Regions from separate parts of the Homo sapiens genome. Here region 2 is linked to region 1. Evidence: promoter capture Hi-C in 16 types of primary human blood cells and fetal thymus (Javierre and others, 2016). All regions are on one chromosome and are shown on one strand. Each heading gives the region's core, a stretch centred on a gene start or on the middle of the fragment in contact. The rest is flanking DNA. Distances are from core to core; before and after follow the strand shown. Region 1 holds the start of FATE1 (fetal and adult testis expressed 1). Region 2 has its middle 28 kb from the start of MAGEA6-DT.

Region 1 (5,705 bases), core at 1,459-3,958:
TGTAGGGAAATGCTATGCTGGGCTGAGAAGAAATGAGGTAGATTTGTTTTCACACGGAGAGATTCCCCAAAGCACATGGTTCACTTGAAAAAATAAGTTGCAGAATATGGCACACACCTCAGATGTAGGTGATCTCAATTGTGCAAAACACTGAACACTGAAAACATATAGACACACATACAAGCCAGGTATGTTCTGGACCCTTCTTTCCCCTATGAAGAAGCATCTGTTGAACCTTTGGGTGAGCAGAACCTTCCACTGGAGTGTTAGGGCTCTGCAGCCTGTTATGTACACTTGGCCATGTGCCATCTTCCTGGACCCAGGCACCGTGTGAGACTTGAAAGGTCTCTCTCTGTATCCCAGGTGCTCTAGTCCTTCGAGGCCCTGAGGTTAGCACACAGACTTTGGGGTAGGGGGCTTTTCAGAATGGTTGGAGTACGAATTTAGGGCCATTTCAAAAGGAGATTACCATGCAGATGATAATTATGAAATTATAATTAGCTAGCATGCTAAGAGACAAGTTCAAAGGCACATAGCAAACTCTCGTCACCTCCAAGTTGTCCTTGGCACTCAATCCAAGAAAGGAAGGCATGCTAAGGGGGTGAGATGCTGGGGTTTTTGAGTGGCATTGGGGGTTCAGGGATTGGGAAGGAATTCTCCCACCCTCTTTGCTTGGCTTTAGGTGGTGGATTCCTATGCCACCAGGGGGCAGTGCCTCCACATGCACCTGGACCCTGTGCTCCTGTGCCCAAGAAGCCCCACCAGGGCCAGTTGATAGCGAGACAGAAATCTGGCCTCCATAGCCCGAGGCCCTGTGGCAAGCCAGTGCCCACACTGCTCTAGCTTTGCTGACTTCTGAGTGCTCCTCACAATCCAGCCACCCTGTAGGGAGGCTTGTCCATGGGGGAGACTGACACCAAAAGAAGCGAGAAACTTGCCCAAGGTAAAATCTTGAAGTCATAGTGAGATAAGATTGTCAGATGGAATACAGGATATGCAGCTAAATTTCAATGTCAAATCAATCCATGAATCATTCTTTAGTGTAAATATGTCCCAAAAGTTAGTGTACGAGAGAATACTTATACTGTTGTTTATCTGAAATTTAAATGTACTTCGTACCTATATTTTCATTTGCTCAATCTGGCTGGGCTTCCCAGGCTCCTGAATCCCACTGAGCTGAGCACACTCAGCAGTTTCTCTGCTCCCAAGGTGGCCCTCCAGAAAGCTCGAATTTCATCACAGCTGCTCCACTGGATCTGGGAAGGGCTTCTTTGGGGCCCCCAGGAATGCAGGCAGGGCCTATATCAGCTCTGGTTCCCAAGCTGGACAGGTGAGGTGGGGGCAGGGGGCAGGCAGCCTCAGACCATGCCGCCCTATCTCAGCTACTCCTGGCCCCTTCGTTTCCACTTTCTCTCCCTTCCTTCCTTCCTTCCTTCCTTCCTTCCTTCCTTCCTTCCTTCCTTCCTCCCTTCCTTCTTCTTTTCCTCCTTCCTTCCTCCTCTTCCTCCCACCTGGCCCAGGGGCTCTGGGGGAAGAAGAGGCTATTTGTAAAAGGAACCTTATATAAACCTGTCCTGATTCCTTTTACAAATAGCCTCCTATTCCCCCAGGGGCTCTGGGGTTGTTTCCTAGAATGAAGGGTTCACCACAGGTAGTTGTAGCAATCAGGGTTTTCCAGAGAAACAGAACTGATAGGATGTATATATGTATGTATGTATGTATGTATGTATGTATGTATGTATGCATGTATGTATGTATATATCTGCATATGCACAAGTATATAGAAATTTATTTTAAGAAATTGGCTTATGCGATTGTGGGGCTGACAAGTCTGAAATGTGCAAGGCAGCCCTGCAGGCTGGCAACTCAAGGAAGAGTTGACATTGCAGTCCTGGGGTAGAATTACCTCTACTTTGGGAAACCTCAGTCTTTGCTCTTCAGGCCTCTCAGCTGATTGTGTGAGGCCCACTCACATCATCGAGGATGGGTCTCTACTTTATTTCAAGTCCACTGGTTGTAGATGCCAACCACAGCTACAAAATGCCTCCACAGCAACACCTAGACTAGGGTTTGATGGAGTCACTGGGGACTAGAACCTGGCCAGGTGACACATAAACCTGACCATCACAGTGGTCTAATCAGTAGGGAAGCTGAGGGAGAACTGGGACTTAGAAGGTGCAGGGCCTGAGGCCCCTGGGGGTTCTAGTGGCTGCAGTCAGGTCCCACCTCTCTTGCCCTTCTCTCCCTTTGTTATGGCTCCTGCCTAGGCTGACCTACTTCAGGAAAAGGCTACCTCCCGTGTCTGGGGACTCTGGATGGGGGAGGTAGGATACGCTCTCCAGAGAATCCCTTCTGAAGGTGTGGTATGGCCTGGATTGCTAGCACCTAACTCTGTTGTGGCCACTGTTGGCTCTCGGACCCTGTGCCAATCCCTGTTTCTTCATAGAAATGATGGAGGGTGGACCCCACCCTTCTCCCCATGGGCTAAATATGGAGATTCATGAGCCAGAGCAGTTCTCACAGGCAAAGGCACGGAATTGTATCTCTTCTCCTAAGTTGCTTACAGAGTAGCAGAGGAGAAGGCCACTGACCTAGCCAGCAAGATACAATAGAAACAGAAAGTACTGTGTCCAAGGCCTCAGCCTAGAGAGGGAGTCTCACTCCACCCCCAGATCTGACTATATCTTCCTTGAGCTCCTGTTTCCGGAAGAGGTGATTTTCTGAGTGTGACTCCTCTGTTCCTGGCACCCTGTGCATCCTTAGCCATAGCTTACAAGAGAACAGCTGGTTGTGATGGCAGGAGGCCCTCCCAACACCAAGGCGGAGATGGAAATGTCCCTGGCAGAAGAACTGAATCATGGACGCCAAGGGGAAAACCAAGAGCACCTGGTGATAGCAGGTGAGGATCCCCTAAAATACCCCTAGGCTACAGCCAACTGTGTAGATACGTGTCTATACCTGTGCATGTGTGTGTTGGAAAAGGTGCATGTGTGCACGGAAGTGTTTGCACATCTGTGTGTTGGCCGGGCTTCGAGGATTTGTGGGTTGATGTAAGGGAGCTAGGGGAAAAGGGATAGATGATGTGAGCATTTTTCCCTGGGAGGGAGGAGGATGGGAACAACATGTGTAGTACCTCTGTCTCCCCCTTATCCAAGCCACCACAGTCTCTGTTGCAAAATACTCAGAGGGCTCAAATTATGAGACCAGAGATCAATTCTCTCTCCCAATCCTCCAATTCATTTTCCTGCCATTTGGAGGAAAATCCAAATTCCATGATCTATAAGATTGTATCAGCCTCCTCAAAACGTTTCATGCTATGATATAGACAGAAAATACCATTTCTATAGCACACAAAGGGATCCAGATCACATTGCATTTATGTTTGTTCTTACGATGCTCCAAGCCTGCTTCTTCCCCCAAAGACCTTGCATTTGCTGTTTCCTCTGCCTGGAATGCTCTTTCCCTCAATTTCCCAGGGCTGGGTCCTTTTTTTCCTTCAGGTCCCCACCTCAATTGCTGTCTCCTACTTTTCTAGGAGGAGCCCTTTCCTTCCACTATGTTACCCTGTTTTGATCATTTATGGAGCCTGCATCTCTCTGTCTGCATTTGCAAGGATAGATTGCTTTCTGTTTTACACCTGTCATTCCCCCTTATACACAAACAGATGGTCAGTTCCTTGATAGCTGGAATCTTGTTCTTGGTCATTGGTCTCTAGGTTACTGGAGAGTAACCTAGTCTCGAGCTCAGCCCTCAGGAAATTCCGGTTTAACTTTTGAACAGATGAACAAACTGAGACCTGGGATCAGCTGATGGACAGTGGTTAATGGGTGCTGAGTGATTCCCAAGAAAGCTGGAGACTCTGTCTTCTTTTTGGTGTGTTTTGTGCCCAAGAAACCCTGGTGCAACTTCTATGGGTGCTCCTGGAGCTTCTGTTCTTCTCTCTAGAAATGATGGAGCTTGGATCTCGGTCCCGGGGTGCCTCCCAGAAGAAGCAGAAGTTGGAACAAAAAGCTGCTGGCTCTGCTTCAGCCAAACGAGTTTGGAATATGACTGCCACCCGACCCAAGAAAATGGTACTGTATGGGGTCCTCAGCACTTGGTGGCCAGGTTGGGGTTGGGAGTACTGGTTGTAGGGGCTCTAGCCTGACCAGGTCAGGCAGGGCTAGACGTTGACTTGTGAGGAGGAGGAAGCTCCTGTGCTCCAAGCTGGCAAATGAGGACAGGAAGTTCCAATTAAAGGTCAGGGTCATCCTTTCCTATGCTGGGGGTTCAACCTTGGGAATTCAGAATGCCTGAAACAAATATTGCATGGGGAGTACATAAATACTTTACTCTATAAATCTATTGTGTGAAATAACGCTTTCCTGTATTTAAAATTATGTGTGTGGTACGTGTGTGTGTGTGTGTGCGCGTGTATACACACAATAAGTCAGGTGAGGCTCCTATGCTTTCTGGCTGTTAAGAAATCCAGTCAAGTGGACTGGCATGGTGGCTCATGCCTGTAATCTCAGCACTCTGAGAGGAGGAGGCGGACGGATCACTTGAGGCCAGGAGTTCGAGAACAGTCTGGCCAGCATGGTAAAACCCCGTCTCTACTAAAAATACAAAAATTAGCTGGGCATGGTGGCACATGCCTGTAATCCCAGCTACTCAGGAGGCTGAGGCATGAGAATTGCTTGAACCTAGCAGGCAGAGGTTGCAGTGAGCTGAGATCATGCCACTGCACTCCAGCCTGGGCAACAGAGTGAGACTCTGTCAAGAAAGAAAGAAAGAAAGAGAGAGAGAGGAAGGAAGGAAGGAAGGAAGGAAGGAAGGAAGGAAGGAAGGAAGGAAGGAAGGAAGGAAGGGGAAAAGAAAGGAAAAGGAAAGAAAGAAAGGAAGGAAGAAAGGAAGAAAGAAAGAAAGAAAGAAAGAGAGAAAGAAAGAAAGAAAGAGAAAGAAGAAAGAAATCCAGGCAAGTGAATCTGACTATTTTGTAGGCAATCCTTTTAAGCTACATTCAATATGGGTGAAGGAATGTTCTAGAACAAATAGTGGCTATAATGTTGCAAATGATATTGGGAAAACACAGTCATTTTGGAGGGGGAGGGAAACCTGACTATTCTACAGAATTAAGTGAGTCCCACAGTTCTGTATCCAATCATTTTAGCTAGCTACATTCACTGTAGGTAAGGGAAAGTTTTAGAAAAATTGTTGTTATGCTGTTGCAAAGGCTGCTGGGAAAAGGCAACAAGATTGGAGAGGGAGGGAGGCCTGACTGCTCCAGGAAATCATGTGAGTCCCATAGTTCTGTACTTTAAGCTACATTCATTGTGGGTGTTGAATGTTCTAGAAAAATGCTGGCCACATTGTTGCAAAGGATACTGAGCCATTTTGGAGAGGAGGTAGACCTGACTGTTTTAGGGAATCACGAATCCCATCATTCTGTAGCCAGTGCTTTTCACCACATTCAGATGGATGAGGGAAAATTTTAGAAAATGGTGGCTTTACTGTTACCACAGTGAAGTTTGAAAGTTACTGGGGGGCAATAAGGTTGGAGAGGGAGGGAGACTCGATTGCTGAAATGATTTATTGGGTGGCCCCAGTGAAGAATGAGAAAAAAAGCTTCCAGGTTAGAGGTTTCCTGGGAATAAAAATAAGTCAAATATTGAGTTGACTTTTTGTGTCCAAAGACAGAAGCCAAATCAAGTTGCTCCAGGAGGTCA
Region 2 (5,669 bases), core at 2,110-4,609, 1.1 Mb after region 1:
TGTTTAAAAGTGTGTGGCATCTCCCCTGCCTCTCTCTTATTCCTGCTCTGGCCATGTGACGTACCTGCTTCCGCTTCACCTTCTGCCATGATTGTTTCATGAGGCCTCCCCAGAAGCTGAGCAGATGCCAGCATCATGTTTCCTGTACAGCCTGCAGAACCGTGAGCCAATTAAGCTTCTTTTCTTTATAAATTATCCAGTCTCAAATATTTCTTTATAGCAATGTGAGAACAGATTAACACAACATGCAATAGGCTAAGCATGGCCAAGACATTCTTGAGATAAAAGAAGATAAAAGGAGTTCCTCCACCAGATAGTAAGAATGACTAGAAAGCTCTAGTGATAAAGAATTTGTAGTATGGGTACAAGGTGTAACAAATAGAACAATGGAGCTGAATAGAGATTCCTGAAACACACCCACTTAATACATGGACTTTTGATTTATATATTTAAAAAGAGCAGGAGAGATAGGGCAATAATAAAACTATAACTTTTAATAAATGACAGTGAAACAACTAAATATCCATGTAGAAAACAAAATGTAACAAGAACCCTCCTTGGAATTACACACAAAAATTAATTCCAGGAGGATTAAAGAACTACTTTTTAAAGGTTTCCTGTAACTTTTTTCAAATATACATAAAATACATGGAATGGTAAAAATGAGCCTTCATATGTTTCTATCATCTAGAGAGCAAGCAGTATGGGTCAAGGAGAGCATCGATAATGCTGGAGGGGAAAGGACTGAAAGAGGCTAGGGACATTGGTCAGTACCAGAAGGGTTGGAGATGATACAAGTCAAGGAGGAAGGGGGAAATGGCAGCTCCTTCTGCCCCTTGTCTCCAACACAGATGACCTTCCCACCCTCAGGGGTCTTCGTTTTCAAAGAGCTAGACCTGGTGGCTAGACAGGAGGAGGCTTAGGAGAAGGCTGCCTGGACCAGTGATTTGTTCATTCCATCTCTCACCACAGCCCCTGCTGATCTCTAGAGCCCTGGAGCTCAGAGAAGTGTGACCTGACAGTATGATTCCTGAGACTTCTGACAAGGCTTGTTGGGCTAACACCCTGACCAGGCCCAGGAGGTCTCTATCAACTTAGAGGCAGTGCCAGGTTGTCCACATGTGATGGGAGTAAAGTGCTACCTCCTCCTCATCTGGGTGAGAGCCATTGGTGGGAAGAGGGGTTTTGGGGCCTTGGCTTCTCTCCTTTTTTGCTCATTGCAAGGTGTCCTCCAGATCCTGTTCCTTGACAGAAAACCCTCGCTGTAGACCCCCACTAGTGGGACTTGGAGTACTTAATGGAGCAAGGAAGGGGGTCTCCCTCCTTCCTGAGATCAGAGGTACTCTAAGTGTGGAGAAGACAGGTATCATGGGATGAGCCTGAACTAATTACATAGTGGCCAGAGGGCCTCCAGGAATGAAGGGCTTTCCCCATCAGCACATGAACTACCACCGGTATGGGCAGGATTTTCCTAACAGTGTTTTTTAGAGAGTAGTTATTAATTTTAATAATGTCTAAGTTATCCATTTTTTCTTTCATGAGTCATGCTTTTGGTGTTGTGTCTAAGAAGTCACAGCTAAACCCAAGTTCACCTTGATTTTCTTCCATGGATGGGGAGCCACCAGTGATGCTGGTTGGAGGGCCTTTCCTCCAGCATGTGAACTACCACTAGTCTGGGGAGTTGGGTCATGGAAGAATCTTAATGAAGACTCTCCACCATCAAAATGGGATTTGGAGCTTCTGGTTGGAAATGCTTCAGGCTGACAAACAGCCTCTGAATGAGAATAGGGTCACCCAAAATGAGCCCCAGGGTGATGGACTAAGAGGGCCTTATAGGAGGAAGGGCGCCATCTTGATCATCTCATCTACCCATGATTAACACCCACCCAGATCAATGCCTGCCCCACCTCTGCTCCATGTACTTTCTTTTAGCTGCCCTCGCTCTTGACAGGGCCCTCAGCAGTATTCGGGAACCCTGAGATTCTAAAAGAGGTTGATTTGTGTTTTTGTGAACGAGTTCACTGAAGGTATGAGTCATCTCCAGATTTACTGTGCCCAGGCCCAACTCAACTGTTGCGGAGTTTGCTTTCTTCCTCAGCTTTGGCTTCAGCGTCTCAGGTGCCGTTAGCCTATCTTGTAGCCAGAATGGGGTATATAACCTCAGAGGTGAAGGTGGAAAATCTTGGGCATTTCTTTTACAATGATTTATCTTTGCCTCCCAGTGTCAGATCCACAAGGCCAACTTTTCTCAGATCTTCACTGCGAGAATATGGTGGGGTTCCTGGAGATAAAGCCTGTAATGTTTGCCCCTTAAGACTGCAGCCCCAGGTAGTTTATCACTTACATTACCCCACACTCAGCTTTCAGAAAGTCATCAAAATCACCATTTAGATGTTCTTACCAGTTTATGGCTCCAGCAGCTTCTGCTACAGGTAAGCAGATCTTACCTGCTCCTCTTTGTGTGAACCAGTCGCTCCACATTTTCAGTCAGTGGTTTGCCCTGCAATCTCAGTTCTCTGATGGGTGTAAGAAAAAGTTTTCAGTTTGTCAAGCATTTTCTTGTAAGAATGGGAGTGCCAACTTACAACTGTATATCCTTTTTACTGGTTGCTTTAGTTATTATATATACCTAGCTTATCTCACTCTACTGTTGTCAACATTTTACCAGTTCAAGTAAAGTGTAGAAACCTCACCTTCCTTCATATCCCTTTACCCTTCTCCATTTATGATGTGATTGTCTTAAGTATTTCTTATACATACATTTAAAGACATATTAGGCCATTCTATAATTTTTGCCTCGACTGTCAAACATAACTTAGAAAACTCAAAGAAGAAAGAAAGTCTATTGTATTTATCTACATTTTGTTTACCATGTTCTTTCTTCCTTCCCAATGTTCCAATTCCCCATTACCCTTTTTATCATTTCCTTTCTGTTTAGGGAACTTCCTCTAGCCATTCTTCTAGGGTAAATCTCCTGGTGACAAAGTCTATTAGTTTTCCTTAATTTGGGAATATCTTGATTTTCCCTTCATTCCTGAAAGATATTTTTGCTATATGTAGGGTTGTGTTGACTGTTCTTTTCTTTCAGCTCTTGAGAGATGTTGTGCTTCTTTCTTCTGGGCTTCATGGTTTCTGTTGCAAACCTCACTGTCATTTGAATTATTTTCCCTCTAAACTGAGATGTCATTTCTCTCTCGCTGCTTTCAAGATTTTTTTTTGTCTCTAATTTTCAGAAGTTTGACTATGACGTATCTTGACTTGGATTTATTCTCCTTGGATTCATTCAGCTTCTCGAATTTATAGGTTTATGAGTGTTGCTAAACTTGGAAAGCATTAAGCCATTATTTCTTTGAGTACCTCTTCAGCCCTATTCTCTTTCTCTTTTCTTTCTGGTATTCTAGTGACATGAATGTTCAATCTTTCGTTATGGTCCCTCAGGTCTCTGAGGCTCTGCTCATTTTTATATTGATGTATTTTTTCCCTGTTGTTCAGACTGAGAAATTTCTATTGTTCTATCTTTCAGTTCACTGATTGTTTCCTCCGTCATCTCCATTCTGCTTTTTAGCCCATCCATTAAGTTTTTCATTTCAGTTATTGCTTTTTTCAGTTCTAAAAACATCAATTGATTTTTCTTTATATGTGCTACTTCTTTGCTGAGATATTCTATTTTTTCCAATTGTTTCAGATGTGTTTATAATTGCATTTTGAAGCATTTTTATAATGGCTGATTTAAAATCTTTGTCAGATAATTCTCAATGTCCATCATCTTGGTGTTGATGTGTACTGACTGAGTTTTTATTCAGTTCAAGATCTTCCTGTTTCTGTTATGTGAATGGTTTTTGATTGAGCTATTGATATTTTGGTTGTTATGTCATATTATTCTGGATCTTATTTAAACCTTGTGTTTTAGCTGGCTTTCTCAGACATCACTCTAGCAAAAGAGATAGGGCACCACTTCATTACTGACATATGGAAATGGAAGATCAAGTTCCTCACTTGGCCTCCATTGACACCCAAGTGGGAGCCCACTCAATACTGCTGGGTTTAGGTGGGAGTTCTGGCCCCATACTAGGGCTCTACTGATACCTCCTTGTTTGGGAGGGGTGAGTGTTTCTCATTACTCTTCCCCATGTGGCCTCTGCTGACACCACAGGTTGTAGGGATGGTCTCATTGTTCCTGGACAGTGGTGAAAGTCCTCACTTTTTATGAGACCTCCTCTGATGACACCCCAGTCAGGAGAGGAAAGGGCGACTTTTATCTTTGAGTGGAAGTGCAAGTTCCCCACATGAGCTATATAAACAACATGCTGTGGGGAGGGAAATGCTTCATTACTACATGCTGGGAATAAAAGCTCAAGCTCTCTACTCAGTCACCTCTGACACCACTCCAGTGCTGGTGAGGGGGTACTTGGAGCCCTTGATATAGCCTAGTGAGGGTGGCAATCCAGGCTCCCCTCTTAGCCTTTGCTGGTGTGGATGTGAGTGGGGCCATAGATTTTTTGTATGTGTTGATATTTGGTGAGAGTAGAGCAGCTAGTGTCTAAAAGTTTTCTGTTTTGCTAGGTTACCCTTTTCCTGATTTTTTGGTTAGAGAGAGAAGGCTTTTGTTGAGGCTTCTCCCCTCAACTCCCTGTACCTGTTGGCTTATTTAGCTCCATTTCTGGGATATATAAGGCATAAAGAAAACACAGGGAACCTCAGCACTTTGGGAGGCCGAAGTGGGCAGATCACGAGGTCAGGAGTTTGAGACCAGCCTGGCCAACATGGTGAAACCCCGTCTCTACTAAAAATACAAAAATTAGCTGGGCGTGGTGGCGTGCGCCTGTAATCCCAGCTACTCGGGAGGCTGAGGCAGAAGAATTGCTCGAACCCTGGAGGGGGAGGTTGCAGTCAGCCAAGATCATGCCACTGCACTCCAACCTGGGTGACAGAGCGAGACTCCGTCTCAAAAAAAAAAAGAAAGAAAGAAAGAAAGAAAAGAAAACACAGGGAACTCACCGCTATGCTATGTTGTTCCTTGGATTCCAAGGTCCCTAGCCAGTCTCCTCTTTTCTCTACCATTCAGACCCATCTTACTGCTTGTTTTGTGTATAACATTCTGGGCATTTAGTTGTGCTTAGCAGGAGAAATAGGAGAGTACTCCATCTTCCCAGAAGTGGAAGTTGAATCCCTACAGATAATTTTAAAACAATAAAATTAATAAAAGCCAATCTTGATTTTTACCACCATACTCCAGTATGTCTATATAATTTCTGTGATAAAATGCTCTTCCCCCAATCTTTTATCCTTATTTTTTCAAAAGTTATTTTTCTCTTCAGGGAATTGTCAACCTAATTATATGGAGAGAGGCTCTTTAAAAGAAAATTTGGGAATAGAGCATTGCAGTGGGATTACACGTGCCACAGTAAATGATGTGTATTCAGAGAGGTAAAGGAAGACAAAGGTTTTAAAAGGAAAAAATGAGGAGACTTACATAATTCCTTTGAAATAATTATCCTTAGGCCAGTCGTGACAGTTCACACCTGTAATCCTAGTACTTTGGGAGGCCGAGGAGGGCAGATGGCCTGAGCTCAGGAGTTCGAGAACAGCCTGGCCAACATGGCAAAATCCCATCTCTACAAAAAATACAAAATATTAGCCAGATGTGGTGGTGCAGGCCTGTGGTCCCA

Evidence for each region. The method cuts DNA at HindIII sites, captures the fragments that hold promoters and counts their contacts. A CHiCAGO score of 5 or more calls a contact.
Region 2: a contact is called between a fragment that was not itself captured here and the fragment with the promoter of FATE1 in region 1, in 2 of 17 cell types (M2 macrophages and M1 macrophages). The highest score is 8.4, in M2 macrophages.

The regions. Positions count from the first base shown.
Region 1 is chrX:151,713,327-151,719,031 of GRCh38, forward strand. It overlaps FATE1 (fetal and adult testis expressed 1), which reads left to right and starts at 2,709. Exons shown (of 5, transcript NM_033085.3): 1 at 2,709-2,899; 2 at 3,946-4,073. The coding sequence starts at 2,794. The HindIII fragment of the contact is 6,237 bases long and covers 1-5,602 here.
Region 2 is chrX:152,794,902-152,800,570 of GRCh38, forward strand. No RefSeq gene overlaps it. Among named protein-coding and RNA genes, the nearest start is that of MAGEA6-DT, 28 kb to the left of the region's middle. The HindIII fragment of the contact is 6,373 bases long and covers 174-5,669 here.